3 separate regions of the Homo sapiens genome follow, and all the other regions are linked to region 1. Evidence: promoter capture Hi-C in 16 types of primary human blood cells and fetal thymus (Javierre and others, 2016). All regions are on one chromosome and are shown on one strand. The core of a region is centred on a gene start or on the middle of the fragment in contact, and the rest is flanking DNA. Distances in the headings are between cores, read along the strand shown. Region 1 holds the start of MYH7 (myosin heavy chain 7). Region 2 has its middle 6.6 kb from the start of PABPN1. Region 3 has its middle 3.6 kb from the start of EFS.

What was found. The method cuts DNA at HindIII sites, captures the fragments that hold promoters and counts their contacts. A CHiCAGO score of 5 or more calls a contact.
Region 2: a contact is called between a fragment that was not itself captured here and the fragment with the promoter of MYH7 in region 1, in 1 of 17 cell types (megakaryocytes). The highest score is 10.2, in megakaryocytes.
Region 3: a fragment that was not itself captured here is called in contact with the fragment with the promoter of MYH7 in region 1 in 1 of 17 cell types (megakaryocytes); the score reaches 5.1 in megakaryocytes.

What each region holds. Positions count from the first base shown.
Region 1 is chr14:23,434,130-23,437,040 of GRCh38, reverse strand. MYH7 (myosin heavy chain 7) reads left to right here and starts at 1,381. Exons shown (of 40, transcript NM_000257.4): 1 at 1,381-1,421; 2 at 2,792-2,847. RefSeq lists an enhancer at 684-1,521. The HindIII fragment of the contact is 1,386 bases long and covers 117-1,502 here.
Region 2 is chr14:23,326,573-23,329,483 of GRCh38, reverse strand. No RefSeq gene overlaps it. Among named protein-coding and RNA genes, the nearest start is that of PABPN1, 6.6 kb to the right of the region's middle. RefSeq lists a silencer at 1,202-1,291. The HindIII fragment of the contact is 1,983 bases long and covers 503-2,485 here.
Region 3 is chr14:23,367,365-23,370,275 of GRCh38, reverse strand. No RefSeq gene overlaps it. Among named protein-coding and RNA genes, the nearest start is that of EFS, 3.6 kb to the right of the region's middle. The HindIII fragment of the contact is 1,158 bases long and covers 978-2,135 here.

The DNA.
Region 1 (2,911 bases), core at 132-2,631:
CTGACAGCTAATCAGATGGACTAATCCGCATGCGCGGAAGAGCTGTGCTTGGGAAGAAGGGGGAGATTTCACACCAAATCGTGCAGTGGTTGCCTAGACACGGAGCCAGTCAAGCTTGCATGCCCCGTTGCTAGAAGAGCATGGCATCGGTTGTGTTCTGTGCTCGTAGGCTGGGCCCCAGCTCCCTTTCCTCCCCTCCTTTGTGGCTGTTCCTCAGGCCTGCAGAGGGGAAGATTTTTCCTGTCCTGTTACTCTGCCTCACTTGCCAGAACACTAGTCGCCTCCAGCTCTGGATAAAGCTGAGGCTGGGTGGGCCAGACAACAGCTGTCTTAGGGGTCTCCTTCCAGCTCCAAGTAGTTGTATTATCTATAGCTCTGAGAGGGTCTGTCTCTGGGCTCAGGCCTTTAGTACCTGTGGGGCAGAGCCAGGAACGTGAGTCAGGCAAACCGCTCCAAACTAGGACCAATGCAGCTGGGTCCTGCTCTCTGCGCATAGGGGGTCCCCACATCTTTGGAATCCCAGCCCACCTTTCCAGGCTACCCTCCACAGGCCGGGCTCCACTCCCATCTGCTGAGGTTTCCCACCTTGAATCCTGCTGCCCCGATTAGCTGTATAACCTTAAAGAATGCACTGTCCCTCTCCATTAAATGAAGTGCTTGGATGGATTGCTAAAGGCCTGTCTGGCTCGGAGGCTTGGTGACCTCAACACATTGCCTGCTGGTCCAAGGAAATCAGTGCCTGAGCCAGAGTCCCCATCTCTAAGCTCCATGGTTATTGTTCTTGCCACCTGGCTAGGAAATGTCCTTCCAGCTGCCCCAGTCTAGCTGCCTCACCCTGGGGCCATGCCCCCAACTCTGTCCTACCCTTCTCTGCTGCTGACACTCAGCCCCTTCCCAGCTTCCAGTTGGATACAGGACCTGGGCCAGGAGAGCAGGGAGGACACTGTGGAAATGCGGCCAGGCCATCAGGGGCCTCGCAGCAGGGGACTGGAGGGGGAGCAGTGTCCAGGGCCAGAAGTGCCCTGCGGGAGAGCCAGGACATTGGCTGCCTGTGGTCTTGGTGGTCGTGGTCAGTTCCCTCTCCTGCCAGCTGTGGAATGTGAGGCCTGGCCTGGGAGATATTTTTGCTGCACTTTGAGCCACCCCGCCCCCTGGAACTCAGACCCTGCACAGTCCATGCCATAACAATGACGACCACTTCCAATTGTTTCCTAGCTGGAGAGGCGGGGAGGGGAGCACTGTTTGGGAAGGGGGGGAGCCTGGGGGAAATGCTTCTAGTGACAACAGCCCTTTCTAAATCCGGCTAGGGACTGGGTGCCGTTGGGGGTGGGGGTGCCCTGCTGCCCCATATATACAGCCCCTGAGACCAGGTCTGGCTCCACAGCTCTGTCCTGCTCTGTGTCTTTCCCTGCTGCTCTCAGGTAGGAGCGGGAGCTGGAGGCTTTACTCTGGGATAAGGGGGCTCCAGGCTTAGGAAGGGATTCCTCTTGGAATAGCAAGCTTCATGCAGGACTTCATGCAGAGTACCAGGTCCAGTCACTGGGCACACATGTGCAGGTCTAAACATGGGCGTATGTGCCACAGGAGTTCCTAGGGGAAGATATCTGCATCTGAGCATATGGGACCAATATGCATTACAGGGTGTGTGTGTGTGTGTGTGTGTGTGTGTGTGTGTGGACAAGCCTGCATAGTCTGAATGTGAGAAAGGGTATGTACCTCACTGACTGATACAGAAATATCAAGTGGGAGATGTGGGTGTATGATCACGTCTGTGAACGAGGAGGTTCCTTTGCAGGGAGGGAGAAAGAATGGTGGAGAAGGATTCTAGGAAGTGTGTATGCCTTCATGTGATTCTGTGAGGCCTGGAATGTGTAGCTACCCCTGTCCATGCATGCAGAGGTTCTTGTCTATGCCTCCACGAGTCATGACTGTTATAGTATCTGTACCCTCTGCAGAAGGAACTCACAGGCACGGGGGTGTAGGATGTTCCAGGTCTTTGTGTACTGAAGAACACGCAGTGATGTGATCTACTTACGTGGCACACATCCTGAAATGTGCACATTTGCTGTTGAGGCATATATGGCACCCTGGGGTTGGGGTGCGGATTGAGGTATGGGAAGGAAGCCTGTCTTCATGTGAGAGGCATGCCCAAGCAGCAGGCATGAGTGTTCATCAGAGGGCTTGTGGAGGGTGTTTGGCTATGTGATGGGTGTGTCTGTGAGAGGAAGCCCACAGTGTCTTCTCTCTGAGAATGTCCACAAAGTCTGACAACAAAATGGGGACAGGATGGAAAAGAAGTCTCTTTAGAGTCATCAGACTTGCATTCAAGTCTTGGCTCTCCCACTTGTTGTCATGGGCTCTTGGCCAAGCAAGCCATTTAACCTCGATTTCCTCATCTGTCAAATGGGGTGAAGACTGAGTAGGAGAAAGTGCATTGAAGTGCTTTTAGACTGGAAAGTGCCGAACAAATGTGACCATTAGTTGTCTCTCAGATGGCTCAAAGAAAGGTACCACTAGATGGGTACAGGCAGGGGTGGGACCATCTCGCAGGAGTGAAGAGGATTAGGGTTCAGGTTGAGTTGACACCAGGAAGCTGTTAGAACTAGTTCTTGAGGAAAAAGGGAATAGGGTTTGAAAAACAAGAAGGATGGGACCAGAGAAGCTGACCACCCTTTCCACCTTGTTTTGGAAGAGGGTGGATGCTGAAGAACAGAGCCAGGGAGAAGCAGGAAGGTGGGACTGGTCAGGTTGGGCACAGCCTGCCCTGACACAGCCTCTTCCCTCTCTCCAGGTCCCCTGCAGGCCTTGGCCCCTTTCCTCATCTGTAGACACACTTGAGTAGCCCAGGTAAGAAAAGCTGAAGCTAGAGTGTTGAAAATCTAGTAAGACTGGGCATTAGAGCCCCAAAGCC
Region 2 (2,911 bases), core at 245-2,744, 110 kb after region 1:
AGGAAGAAAACTACCAGCTCCAGGTAAAAGGCAACACTATTGTTGTTACCGCCTTCTCCAGGACAGGAAAGGCAAGCCCAGGGTGAATAAGCAACTTTTGGGCACCTACTAAATGGCAGGCCCTGTGAGGCAGACACAAAGTCACAATTGATGCCCTCAAGAAGCTTGCATTCGGCCGGGCGCGGTGGCTCACGCCTGTAATCCCAGCACTTTGGGAGGCCGAGGCGGGTGGATCATGAGGTCAGGAGATCGAGACCATCCTGGCTAACAAGGTGAAACCCCGTCTCTACTAAAAATACAAAAAATTAGCCGGGCGCGGTGGCGGGCGCCTGTAGTCCCAGCTACTCGGGAGGCTGAGGCAGGAGAATGGCGTGAACCCGGGAAGCGGAGCTTGCAGTGAGCCGAGATCCCGCCACTGCAGTCCGCAGGCCAGCCTGGGCGACAGAGCGAGACTCCGTCTCAAAAAAAAAAAAAAAAAAAAAAAAAAAAAAAAGAAGAAGCTTGCATTCTAGTGGGAAAACAGAAATGTAGTTAGTTTCATTATAAAACCACAAAGTAAATATTAAACAGGGATAGGAACAGTTTGTCCTGACTGCAGGAGTGATTACTTCTGACTTGGAAATCAGGAAAGGCTTCATGTCTGTTGTACCTGGCTTACACTTGGAAGGATATGCGTGATTTTCATAGAAGAGTTGGAATGAGCATAGCAGGCTAGAGGGAACAGCATGAGGGATACATGAAAATAAATAACAACTACAATGCATAGTACATCAGGTGTAGGGCAGGATCTGGAAGAGAAATGTAATCAGGATCAGATTGAAAAAGGTTGTAGTTCCATGCTTGTGTTTGGACTTTGTACTTATTGGTGGCATCATAGAGGGCTTTTTTTGGCAATAAGAAGTTTGGAGGCTGAGCATGGTAGCTTACGCCTATAAACCTAGCACTTTGGGAGGCCGAGGCAGGAGGATTGCTTGAGGCCAAGAGTTCAAGATCAACTTGGCCAACATAGCGAGACCCTATCTTTTAAAGTACTTTTTTTAGGAATTTTTATTTTTCAAAAAAAAATTTGAAGCCAATACATCTGCCAGGACCCCTGCAATGATGATGGGGAGTTACTCAAGCAGTGAAAGTAGGAATAGAGAGAACAGACAAGATATGGTAGAATTGACTGAATATGGAAAACTAAACCAGAGAAGGGTCAAAACATGATTCACCCTCCAATACCCAACAATTTATGGGGATCTTTTAGAGCCAGCCATTTAGTGCCCCCTGGTGGACAGATGAGACCATCACAGCATTAACAGCAACAAGTCACTTAGGCTGTTTCATTCTTCCAGTAAAAAGTTTATATTGAACACTATCCAGACCCTCACTAATCAGCCTCTGCAGAAGCCACAGAGATCACGGCACTATTTTAGGTGAATCTAGTTAGGAGAAAAGATAGACCTCAAATGCCTAACCCATAACAGAAAGTAGAATAAATGACCAAATCCTAAAATATGTGGTGGATAACACTGACATGAGATTTTAGAAAATACTGCAATTTGAGAGGTGGGTTAAGGCTTCAGATATAACAGAGTTTTTTGTTTTGTTTGTTTTGAGACAGAGTCTCGCTCTGTCACCCAGGCTGGAAGTGCAGTGGCTGAGTCTCAGCTCACCTCAATCTCCACCTCCTATGTTCAAACGATTCTCCTGCCTTAGCCTCCAGAGTAGCTGGGACTACAGGTGCATGCCACCACACCTGGCTAATTTTTGTATTTTTAGTAGAGACGGGATTTCACCATGTTGGCCAGGCTGGTCTCAAACTCCTGACCTCAAGTGATCCGCCCACCTCTGCCTCCCAAAGTGCTGAGACTGCAGGTGTGAGCCACTGCGCCCGGCCACAGAGCCATTTCTTTAACATATGATTTTTGAAGAGCATCCAGGTCAGAGGCAATTGTGAACAAAACATCCTGAGAAGTAAATGAAAAAATAGTAAGGTTGAAATACTAAGAAATTCTATAGGTAATGAAGTCTGAAGGTTCAACCTGGCTAGTGATGTAGTGTTCAAGTTTTAAGACCAATCTGACACTGGAATAAAAAATGGAGAAATTAGGATGCCCAAGACAAAATTTAGATATGAAAACAGTGAAAGCCAGTTGTGAAGTCCTAATAAACTAATCCTGGCCAGGAGCTGTGGCTCACGCCTATAGGAAGGCCAAGCCAGGAGGACTGCTTGAGCTCAGGAGTTTGGGACAGCCTGGGCAACACAGCAAAACTGTCTCTACAAAAAATTAGCCAAGTGTGAAGGCAGGCACCTATAGTCACAGCTATGTAGGACACTGAGGTGGGAGGATCACTTGAGCCCGGGAGGTTGAGGCTGCAGTGAGCCACTGCACTCCAGCCTGGGTGACAAAGCAAGACCATCTCAAAAAAATAAATGATCCAATTAATATAAGTTAGCTGGACACATTAAATGGTTACTGCATGGTTGGAAAAACAAGCTTTCCGATTGTCTCTTAGCTAAGTGTATTTTGTCTTCTGCATTTCTTGGGCCCACCTTGAGGTAGAAAAGGTAGCTGGGTGCAGTGGTTCACACTTGTAATCCCAATACTTTGGGAGGCTAAGATGGGAAGATTGCTTGGTCAACATAGCGAGACCCCAAAGACAAGGTTACCCAGACCCCAATCCAAAGCTCTAGGGCTGCAGGCATGGATAGTTCATTTGCACGTAAGCTGTATCAGGAGCACACAAAAGCGCCATTAGGTCAGTAATTCGGCTATTCCTTTTTTTATTTTGAGACAGTTTCACTCTGTCACCCAGGCTGGAGTGCAGTGGTGTGAACTTGGCTCACTGCAAGCTCCACCTCCTGGGTTCACGCCATTCTCCTGGCTCAGCCTCCCGAGTAGCTGGGACCACAGGCACCCGCCAC
Region 3 (2,911 bases), core at 307-2,806, 67 kb after region 1:
AGGTCCCCTCCCAGCACGTCTTCACCTGCCTAGGCCTGACCTGGCAGTTGAAGAGAGCTTCCTGGGATTCCTGTCCCTGTGGCCCTGAGGAAAGAGAGAAGCACCTGCTAGGAAAGGGCAGGGAAGATGTGGTGGAATACACTTCCCAATCTTGGCTTGGAAAGGCTCTTGGGGCTTACAGAAAGTGAGAATATGTCTTCCCCGCCCCTTCTCAGGAAGATATGCAAGTCTCCACCTGCTGCCTTGAAGTCTTGGCCCTGCCAATGACCAGCTCTGGATCTTGAGCCCTCTCTCTGCTCCTCCCTCTTCAATTGTAGAAGTGGGTGGGTTTGGGTGGGCGGGGATTGGGGGGAACATTGACCTGGATGGTCACAAAGGTGCCAACCAGCTTAGCTGCTCCAGACCTCAGCTCCTGAAATAGTGCTGAATCCACAGGACTCAGCAGGGTCTACTGAAGCTCATCGGCACTCACTGTACATGAAGCTAAGGCACCGAACATCAAAATGTTGAAATACTTCTGCTCCTGCTGGTAAGTAGATGCTTCCTTCAGCCTTGGGACACCACCTTACCATACTTCCCTATGATCCAGCAACTAAAGGTTGAACACCTGGCACAGATGGAGGCCCCCAGAACAGTGCTACCACTTTCTGATTGGTAGATGATAATGGTTTAGCTACAAAAACGCCTAGGCTCAGGAGCAGCCTTCAAGGAGAACCCAGTCTAGACCCTGGGAGACACATGGAGAATCAGAGTTAGCAGAACCAAGAACCCAACAAACCCATGTCTTTAGTCCAGGGCTGTAGCCTTCCCCAGGAGGCCCCTCAGCTTACTCGGCTTTGTCCTATAGTCATGGCTGCCTTCGTTCACTTATCCACTCACCAAATATTTACTGTGCACCTACTGTGTTCCAAGCACTATTCTAACAGCTAGAAATGCAGGGGAGGACAAGCCAGACAAGGTCCCTGCCTCATGAAGCTTACGTTTTAGGGGGAGACAGATTATAAACAAGGAAACAAGATAATTTCTGATAATAATAAGTGCTATGAAGAAAATGAAACAGCATTATGAGATAGGGAGTTACTGGGGGTGGGGGAGAGGAAGGCAGGGCAACTTTAAGTTGGAAAGCCAGGAAAGGCCTTTCTGAGGATGCAGGATTTCACCTGATGACAGAAAGGGTCTGGGGGAAGTAGTTTAGGCAGAGGGGGCAGGACATGCAGAGTCCTAGAGGTGGAAAAGAGCATGGCATATTTGAGAAACAGAAAGGACAGTGTAGATGTTGAACAAGAGATAAGGAGGAGAGGGAGACAAGATGAGGTGAAAGAGGTGGGCAGGGAGGAGATCACATAGGGTCCTCCAGGCTACCATGGAGCATTTGGATTTTATTCCAGAGTCAGCCGGAAGATATTGACTGGATTCAAGCATGAGCTACATGATATGTTTCTTGAGGGCAGGCACCATGTCCTTGACATTCTAGTGCCACCACAAGGCCATCACCAAATAACAATAATAGTAGTTGCCTTTGTCCAAAATTTACACCTCATGGGCCTGATACTGTTCTTGGGATTCCCTTAATCCTCATAACAAGTAAATGCTAAAAGTTCAATTAACATTCCCACTCTACAGACAAGGAACCAGAGGCTCCAGGAAGTCACAGAACTTGGCCAAGGTAACTAGCCAGTGTTAGAACCAGGATTAGAACCCAGGCAATCTAGGTGCTATGGGTCCAAAGAGAGGAGAACTGAAGAATTGGTGAGCACCCAAGAAGTTTTGGGTAGCAGGAGAAACAAGGAGAGGTCCAGGAAGTCTTGGGGTCAGGTGAGGAAAAAACCAGCTCATTGGACCTGCAGGGAAGGGGAAAGAATGGGAGAAAAGACTGGGACCCGGGAAGCCAAATGGAGGGGTTCCTTCCCTTCTTCTCCCTGAATATGGCAAGGGCAAACCTTGAAGACCCACTGCTTGAGGCTGCCACCCACCCAGGGTCTCAGCTACCTGCCAAGCCTGGGTTTTCTCCAACCTCACCTGCCCTCAACAACGAACACATTCAGCTTTCTGGAAAGCACAAGTCAGAGGGGAAGCCAAGGTAAAGAGGAAAAGCCATGGAAGAAGAGCACTGTGCCTGGCAATCTACATAAGCTTACTCCTCACCAAAGTCACTGCCACAGAGGAGGACCTGAGACTCGGATGCCCTATAACTGGACAAAGGTCACACAGCTAGTTAAGCAGGATTCACTTGTGACTCTGACTGGCTCCATTCCACACCTGGATATTCCAGAAGCAGCCTTATTTCCCACTGGTCTGTCCTCTGCTGTCCCTCTTCTACCCTTCCCCGGGCAGGGAAACTGCCTGCCCATCTCCCAAGCCAACCCTTGCCTGGTCCTAGCAGTTTCCTTCCTCCTTAGCCTTTTCTGGCCTCCATCTATTTCCCCTCGTGCCAGTCAAAGCATTCATCTTTGAAGACAGGGTTTCCTGCCCACCTCCACCTTGGACCCCAATTTGCCTTGGCAGTCTCCTGGGCAGAGATCACACCAAGTCACTCGCCAGCAGCTGGATATCCGTGTGCCTGGCAGCCAGGTCCCCCAGGGCTGGGGTCTGGAAGAGGTTGGAAAATCTTCCCTAGTGGCCACCTCTAACCTAACTGGAGCTGGGAAGCAGGAGCTCTCCCTGGAAATTTAAAAGTTCCTCTACCATCCCAGTGGAGTTGGAATCTATTCAGGAGTCTTCCATCATGGAGAGCCAGCCTAGAGCCAACACAGTTTATCCCCATCCCCATGTTTATCCCAGAATCTCTCCCTATTCCACCCCATAGGCTCCACCACACCCTTCCAGCAGAGGTTTCTTCACAGGTGCCCAGGTAATACAGTGGGGAAGGAGCTGGGGCAGGTGTCCTGACCACACTCTCCTAGGAAATGCC